2 separate regions of the Homo sapiens genome follow, and region 1 is linked to region 2. Evidence: promoter capture Hi-C in human tissues and cell types (Jung and others, 2019). All regions are on one chromosome and are shown on one strand. The core of a region is centred on a gene start or on the middle of the fragment in contact, and the rest is flanking DNA. Distances in the headings are between cores, read along the strand shown.

What was found. The method cuts DNA at HindIII sites, captures the fragments that hold promoters and counts their contacts. A contact is called where the count stands out against the background at its distance.
Region 1: a contact is called between a fragment that was not itself captured here and the fragment with the promoter of ZNF670 in region 2, in 1 of the 25 tissues and cell types used here (bladder).

Annotation. Positions count from the first base shown.
Region 1 is chr1:247,366,244-247,370,458 of GRCh38, reverse strand. The region is part of intron 1 of ZNF496-DT (ZNF496 divergent transcript); the gene reads right to left. Among named protein-coding and RNA genes, the nearest start is that of ZNF496-DT, 36 kb to the right of the region's middle. The HindIII fragment of the contact is 9,484 bases long and covers 1-4,215 here.
Region 2 is chr1:247,076,225-247,080,450 of GRCh38, reverse strand. ZNF670 (zinc finger protein 670) reads left to right here and starts at 1,640. Exons shown (of 4, transcript NM_033213.5): 1 at 1,640-1,857. The coding sequence starts at 1,855. ZNF670-ZNF695 (ZNF670-ZNF695 readthrough (NMD candidate)) reads left to right here and starts at 1,640. Exons shown (of 7, transcript NR_037894.2): 1 at 1,640-1,857. RefSeq lists silencers at 1,606-1,675, 1,464-1,777. The HindIII fragment of the contact is 11,562 bases long and covers 1-4,226 here.

The DNA.
Region 1 (4,215 bases), core at 688-3,187, 290 kb before region 2:
ATGAAAAAACGGATAAGGACAATTTGAAAAACACAAATAACTGAATACTCATTCAGCTTTTAAAAGACGAAATTGGCCAGGCGCGGTGGCTCACACCTATAATCCCAGCACTTTGGGAGCCCAAGGCGGGTGGATCACAAGGTCAGGAGATCGAGACCATCCTGGCTAACACGGTGAAACCCCGTCTCTACTAAAAATACAAAAAATTAGCCGGGCGTGGTGGCGGGCGCCTGTAGTCCCAGGTACTCAGAGGTTGAGGCAGGAGAATGTCGTGAACCCGGGAGGCGGAGCTTGCAGTGAGCCGAGATCGCACCACTGCACTCCAGCCTGGGCGACAGAGCCAGACTCTGTCTCAAAAAAAAAAAATTCAAAATTTTGTTATATGGACAATAGGGATAAATCTTGAGGACACTATGCCAAGTGAAATAACCAAGTAACAAAAGAGATACTGGGCCAGGTACGGTGGCTCACACCTGTAATCCCAGCACTTTGGGAGGTCCAGGCAGAAGGATCACGAGATCAGGAGATGGAGACCATCCTGGCCAACATGGTGAAACCCCGTCTCTACTAAAAATACAAAAATTAGCTGGGCGTAATGGCGCATGCCTGCAGTCCCAGCTACTCAGAAGGCTGAGGCAGGAGAATCACTTGAACCAGGGAGTCGGAGGTTGCAGTGAGTGGAGATCGCGCCACTGCACTCTAGCCTGGCGACAAAGGGAGACTCCGTCTTAAAAAAAAAAAAAAAAAGCCAGTGGCACAGTAATCATTCTCCTACAATTACCCATGCTATGTGAGTTAAAATAAAATTTTGTATGCTTATCTCCCTGTTAATCTGCCTATTGTCAGTTGATTTTGCAGCAAAACTTCAGAGAGTGAAGCAGCTTTCTCTTGGCCCCTACAGATTTGGCGCTGTGAGCAGGATCACCAAAACTGTTTAGCTCTTCTGAAGCCAGGAGTCCAAGGAACCTGGGGCCTGACAGGCCAGCAGAAGGGGAAGAATTTGGGAGTAGTTAGATTCTTGGCATCTGTAAAAAGTAAAGTAGAGGTTCCTCTTCAAAGACTTTCCTCCCCATCTAATTAGGAATAAATAGTAACTTCTATTAGAAGCAAAATTTATTCAAAGACCTGTGCTAACATTCTTAAATATCTGCTAGCCGTAATAAAGAAATCAATGTTCTTTATGTTCTTAGCTCCCACAATTTAGCCTAAATATCTGCCCTGGCATGCTTATACTGGTCCAAGTAAGCATTAGGTCACAGCCTGTTCCTCTTCCTTATTTGAAGGTGTTTTTACCTTTCTCAGCATTCCACCAGTTACTTCCTCTTTCCTTTGTTCCCCTCTACCTTTGCCTCTTTTAAAAAGTTCTAAGTTGCTAGCCAATCGAGACAAATACAGAATGTGAGGTCCCGCTCCAGCCAGTGGAAACCAGACACAGCAGTAGGGAGGACGCGTCAGGTTATAAATGACCCTGTCTCCTTTGTTCAATGCACTCTCATGGCAAAACTGCTGATGAGTGTACCCTTTCTGCAAGAAGTAAAAATGGCCTTACTAAATAAATTAAATTCATGTTCAAGTGCTATTTCTTTACCGCACCAAGGAAGAAACATTTCAAACAGCATCTGTCTGTGCAATCCAATCAAGCAGACAGTAAAACTGTTTCCTTTTCCTTTTCCAAATTTAAGATAAATGGAAAGAAAGAATTTATTTATTTATTTAGAATCAGCTCTGTTGCCCAGGCTGGAGTGCAGCGGGACAGTCATGGCTCACTGCAGACTTAACCTCCTGGACTCGAGGGATCCTCCTGCCTCAGCTTCCTGTGTAGCTGGGACCATAGGTGCACTCCACCATTCCCTGCTAACTTTTTGATTTTTTTGTAGAGATGGAGTCTCAGTTGTTGAGGCTGGCCTCAAACTCCTGTGTTACTGGAAAGGGGTCCCAATCTAGACCCCAAGAGAGGGTTACTGGACCTCCCACAAGAAAGAATACAGGGCGAGTCCATAGAGTAAAGTAAAAGCAAGTTTATTAGGGAAGTAAAAGAAACAAAAGAATGGCTACTGCATAGGTACAGCCGTGGTGTGAGCTGCTCAACCGAGTATACCTACAGTTATTTCTTGATTGTATGCTAAACAAGGGGTGAATTATTCATGAGTTTTCCGGGAAAGAGGACTGGATTTCCAGGAACTGAGGGTTCCTCCCCACTTTCAGACCATATAGGGTAACTTCTGGATGTTGCCATGGTATTTGTAAACTGTGGTGGTGCTGGTGGGAGTGTCTTTTAACACGCTAATGCCTTATAATAAGTATCACATAATGAGCAGTGAGGATTACCAGAGGTCACTTTCATCAGCATCCTGGTTCTGGTGGGTTTTGGCCGGCTTCTTTACCACATCCTGCTTTATCAGTGGGGTTGTTGTGACCTGTATCTTGTGCTGACCTCCTAACTCATCCTGTGACTAAGAATGCCTAAGCTCCTGGGAGCCCAGCAGTTCTCAGCTTTTTTTTACCCAGCCCATCTTCAAGATGGAGTCCCTCTTGTTCAAATATATCTGACATCTGGACTCAAGGAATCCTCCTGCCTTGGCCTCCCAAAGTACTGGAATTACAGGGTGAGCCACTGCACCCAGCCAAGAAAAGCATTTATACAGGCTAATTTTAGACACACAAACGCTGGTTTATTTTTGGTATGACTATTTCATGTTGTCTGATCTTTTTCCTTTCAGAAACATTCTTTTTTTTCCTGTGTCTCTGTCTTGCTGTCATAAAGATTCCCTCTCATCTTGCTTAATATCTTTTATGTCAGGCTCTCAAGAGCCTGACTTGTGACCAAGTGGGGAGCACTCTTGCTTGGTCTCTACCAACCCGGGGAGTGGTTGGGGGAGTGGCATGACTTTTGGGACTTTTGGGTCATGTGTGTTGGTCAGTTGTATTAGTCCATTTTCACTCTGCTTACAAAGACATACCCAAGACTGGGAAGAAAAAGAGGTTTAATTGGACTTACAGTTCCACATGGGCTGGGGAAGCCTCAGAATCATGGCAAAGGGCAAAAGCCACTTCTTACATGGCAGCAGCAAGAGAAAATGAGGAAGAAGCAAAAGTAGAAACCCCTGATAAATCCATCAGATCTTGTGAGACTTATTCACTATCACGAGAATAGCATTGAAAAGACCAGCCCCCGTGATTCAATTACTTCCCCTTGGGTCCCTCCCACAACATGTGGGAAATCTGAGAGGTACAATTCAAGTTAAGATTTGGGTAGAGGCATGGCAAAACCATATCATTCCACCCCTGGTGGCTCCAAATCTCATGTCCTCACATTTCAAAACCAATCATGCCTTCCCAACAGTCCCCCAAAGTCTTAACTCATTTCAGCATTAACCCAAAAGTCCATAGTCCAAAGCCTCATCTGAGAAAAGGAAAGTCCCTTCCACCTATGAGCCTGTAAAATCAAAAGTCAACTGGTTACTTCCTAGATACAATGGGGGTACTGGTATTGGGTGAATACAGCCGTTCCAAATGGGGGAAATTGGCCAAAACAAAGGGGTTACAGGGCCCATTCAAGTCTGAAATCCAGCAAGGCAGTCAAATTTTAAAGCTCCCAAAATGATCTCCTTTGACTCCAGGTCTCACATCCAGGTCACACTACTGCAAGTGGTGGGTTCCCATGGTCTTGGGCAGCTCTGCCTCTGTGGCTTTGCAGGATACAGCCTCCCTCCCGGCTGCTTTCATAGGATGGTGTTGAGTGTCTGCAGCTTTTCCAGGTGCATGGTGGAAGGTGTTGGTGGATCTAGCATTCTGAGGTCTGGAGGATGGTAGCCCTTTTCTCACAGCTTCACTAGGTGGTGCCCCAGTAGGGACTCTGTGTGGGGGCTCCCACCCCACATTTCCCTTCTGCATTGCCCTAGCATAGGTTCTCCATCGGGGCCCCACCCCTGCAGCAAACTTCTGCCTGGGCATCCAGGCATTTCCATATGCCCTTTGAAATCTAGGCAGAGGTTCTCAAACCTCAATTCTTGACTTCTGTGCACCCACAGGCTCAACACCACATGGAAGCTGCCAAAGCTTGGGGCTTCCACCCTCTTCTACCCTCTGAAGCCACAGCCTGAGCTGTACATTGGTCTCTTTCAGCTGGGACACAGGGCACCAAGTCCCCAGGCTGCACACAGCCTGGAGACACTGGGCCTAGCCCACAAAACCACTTTTTCCTCTGGGCCTCCA
Region 2 (4,226 bases), core at 391-2,890:
CGTTGTGGTGGGTGCCAGTAATCCCAGCTACTCAGGAGGCTGAGGCACGAGAATCGCTTGAATCCGGGGGGCAGAGGTTGCAGTGAGCCGAGATCATGCCACACTGCACTCCAGCCTGGGCAACAGAGTGAGACTCGGTCTCAAAAAAAAAAAAAAAAAAAAGGGATAATTTGAGCTCAAAAAATAGATACAGACTGCAGTGTATGGAATCTCATTAAATACACAAAAAATAAGGTTAGAAAAAAGTCACTCACATTTTTTTTGTTTGCTGAGGCCACGCCGTCATTGTTATGACAATTGATTAAAGGGAGAATCAAGCTTTTATTCTTCCTTTCCTAATAGGGTAGGTTTTAATGTAATGGAGAGAGTTCATGAGAAAACGCCATTTTTAATAGAAGAATGAGAACTAATACCTGTAGAGAAAATAATTAGAAAACCACTATTTGGCAACTCTCACTGAGATAAGTGAAATTAAGAAATAGTAATCAATAAATAATGAACAGTTACATGAAAGGAACAGGCAGACATTCCCGAACAACCTTAAAATAAAGTGGTAAAACCAGACACGTGTATCCAAATGTGCAGGCTGAATTGAAACATGCTGGAAGCTTAATATATAGAGTGATTTTTCATTAATAATATATCGATTGTAAGGCCGTCTGAGCAGGCTGCGCCATGGTCAAGCCATTGTGATCCCTGTGACCCACACGTGTACATCCAGAAGGTCCTGGAGCCAGAAAGTCTGGGACAACAGGAAAACCACAAAGGAAGAAAAACGGCTAGTTTCTGTCTTAGCTGATTAGCCAACCTTGCAGCATTTTACCGTTGTGACGTGCACTACCCTAACTGATCAATCAGCCTAGTGACACTGTGACCCCTCCCTCTTGTGACAATGTACTTTGTGACATTCTTCCCCCGCCGGTAATAAACGGCCCCTGACTGTAACTTTCCACTGCTTACCCCTCACCTATAAAACTAACTCCAATCCCACGACCCTCCGCTGACCCTCTTTTCGGACTCAGCCCGCTCGCACCCGAGTGAGTAAACTAGCCTTGCTGCTCACACTTAACCTGTTTGGGTAGTCTCTTCAATTAGGCGCGAGCTTAACATCGATCATATATTGAAACAATATTTTTGGATATATTTGGTTAAATAAATCATTGTAATCAATTTCACGTGTTGTTTTCTTTTCTATTGCTACTGGAACACACGCGGCTCACATTTTATTTCTATGGGGCGTTGCTACCTGAGAGGACATTGTCTTTTCAAAATTCAAGCTGCCTCTAATCCCACTAGAAGCAAGAAAAAAAAAAAAATTCAGGCTGCCTCCTCAAAAGACCAGAGGCCAGGAAGGTTGTGAAATCTGAAATTTTAGAATAATTGTCATCATAGTGTTTCCAATTGTAAATATCACAAATATTACTCATAAATGGACATAATCCTGTGTATGAGCTTGAATGGGAAAGTCCCCCGGGGGGCGCCAGGTCTCAGCACAGGGCAGAATCCATGCCTTAGAAAAGGACTGCAGGGAAAGAACCTGGCCTCACTCAGCGCCGTGTCTGATTGCATCTCCCGTCACTCAGGACTGAAGGGGCGGGGCCTAAGGCCCTGTCCAATCGGGCGCTGGGAAGGGGACTGTACTCTCAAGCGCGCCGCGAAAGGAGGGAGCAGCTTCCGGGACCTGGCGCGGCTTTTGTGTTGGGCAGCGCGAATGTGGCGAGCTCGGTGCGTCTCCGCTGCTCCTTCCCCTTATCCCTGGGAGGTCCAAGTGGTCCCGCGGCAGCTTCTGTTGCTCTGGGACCTGCAGGTCCCGGAAGGTCCTTAGGGAGGACCCCAGACACCGGAGACTGGGAAATGGTGAGTGTGCCGGCCAGGTGTCTCGGGAAGGGGAAAAGGGAACCGCCAGGAAGCGGTTGTGGCGAACCCGGACCTCCCCGCGGTGCCGACCCGAGTTTCCGCCGGCGCCTCGCGGCCTTAGTGGCACAGGATGCGGGGCTGGACCCGCAGCCAGACCCCGGGCCGCCTGGCTTGTCCCTGCCCCGCCGCTTCGGCCAGGCCCGGAACCCTTTCTGGGCAGCTCTGCCTCTGTAGACCCGCATCTCCCTCGGATCGTGCGGTGCCGACGGGAGGGTCCTCAGGGGAGAGTCCCGACTTGGGGTTCGGGGTTCCTGCGTGGGAGGAGCTGTGGTCTGTGAAGTCTCCAAATCCTCCTTTCTCCTGTTAGAAAGAAAACTGAGGCGCCGTTAAAATATTAAGGAGTTTATTTGAGCAGAGAGTCGTGAGTTAGGAAGCCACCAGCGTGGTTTGTGGTTTGGGGAAGGAAAGGGTTTTTTGTAAGGAACCCGAGGAAGCAAACCCAATTAAATAATTGATCGTGTACAGTTATGTAGTCACCCCATATAGACTGTGCAGCCAGATATCTCCTGGTTATGTAACCAGAGGTTAATTGGTGGGTTCGTGGTTGTTTAAGGCTGTTTTGTTTCCCTTTAAGTTATTAATTTACAAGACAAGCATGAGTTACGTTTTGGTTGGTTGTTTATTCATTCATGTGTGTATGTACATGTGTATGATGGAGTCTTGGACTCGGGCTCAAGCGATCCCCCCACCTCAGTCTCCCTAGTGCCTGTGTTTAATTATTTTCACATAACACTCCACATTTCTAAGTGTATGGCAACAGGATCTCACATCAACGACCCTGTTCCCACAGCCTAACTCTTCTGGGGCTTGTAGTAAAACCCTAAATTTCCAATTCTTTTCCTATATTCAAATGCAACATTATCAAGTATTTGTCTTTTATTGTACATTTCATACAGATGAAGTGTGTTATTTTTTTCAGAGTAGTGAGTCGTTCTGAAAATATTTGTTTTCACTCTTAAAATATTTCTGAACATTACACATGAGTGGAAAGCAGAAAATAATCACCTGACAGTTAATTGTAGAAAAAAAAAGTCTTTGTGCATCTCCTAATTTTATCTTTTTTGAGTGTGCACATCTTACCAGAGTATCTTTGGGGTGAAGTTCCCTTTTGGAAACTTTAGAGGGTGATATGTCCTCAGCCACCCTTATATCTTTTCTTGGTCCTCTGTTTAGCAGCCAGATCTCTTGGAGTGTCTAATGAATACCTTCTCCTGGGTCATCTCCTCACAGAGGACAGTTTAAAATATGGAAGTAGAGCCTCTCCAGGCAGCATCTGGGTGCCCTGGAGTTGAGAGACGTCTCCTAGTATACTCTTCGTTTAAAAAACAAATCCCTGGTGCATTGGGATTTTCTTCCTCCAACCCCAGTTTTCATCATTCCTTGGAGACACGTTGGTGGCAGCCAGTCAGATGCTGGTATTAAGGGAAAAATCTAGAAATGATTCCTGCGCTCTGGATTTTCTCGGACTTGGGAAAGGAGAAAAACTATCTCAAAGGACAAGGAATACCCACCCCAGTGAGGTGGTGCAAGAACCAGAAAAGCACCATCATCAGAATTATGTAAGAAGAGAGTTGGCTGGGCGTGGTGGCCCACGCCTGTAATCCCAGCATTTTGGGAGGCCAAGGGAGGCAGATCACTTGAGGTCAGGAGTTTGAGACCAGCCTTGCCAGTATGGCAAAACACTGTCTCTACTAAAAATACAAAAATTAGCCCAGTCTGGTGGTGCATGCCTGTAATCCCAGCTACTCAGGAGGCTGAGGCAGGAGAATCGCTTGAGGCCAGGAGGTGGAGGTTGCAGTGAGCTGAGATGGTGCCACTGCACTCCAGCCTGGGTGACAGAGGGAGACTCAGTTTGAAAAAGAAAAAAAAAAAAAAGAGAGTTTATTCTAAAGTATTGCAATGGGGAAAAACACCAGGTATAAGAGCTGCAAGCATGTTAAAGTTTAGGCAGAAAAGGGCTTAGAAATTCAGGCACACAGGCCAGGTGCGGTGGCTCACGCCTGTAATCCCAACACTTTGGGAGGCCGAGGCGGGCGGATCACGAGGTCAGGAGATCGAGATCATCCTGGCTAATGTGATGAAACCCCATCTCTACTAAAAATACAAAAAATTAGCCGGGCATGGTGGCGGGCGCCTGTAGTCCCAGCTACTCAGGAGGCTGAGGCAGGAGAATGGCGTGAACCTAGGAGGCAGAGCTTGCAGTGAGCTGAGATCACGCCACTGCACTCCAGCCTGGGTGACAGAGCAAGACTCCGTCCCAAAAAAAAAAAAAAAATTCAAGCACACAGTGGGGCACAGTACAGTGTCTC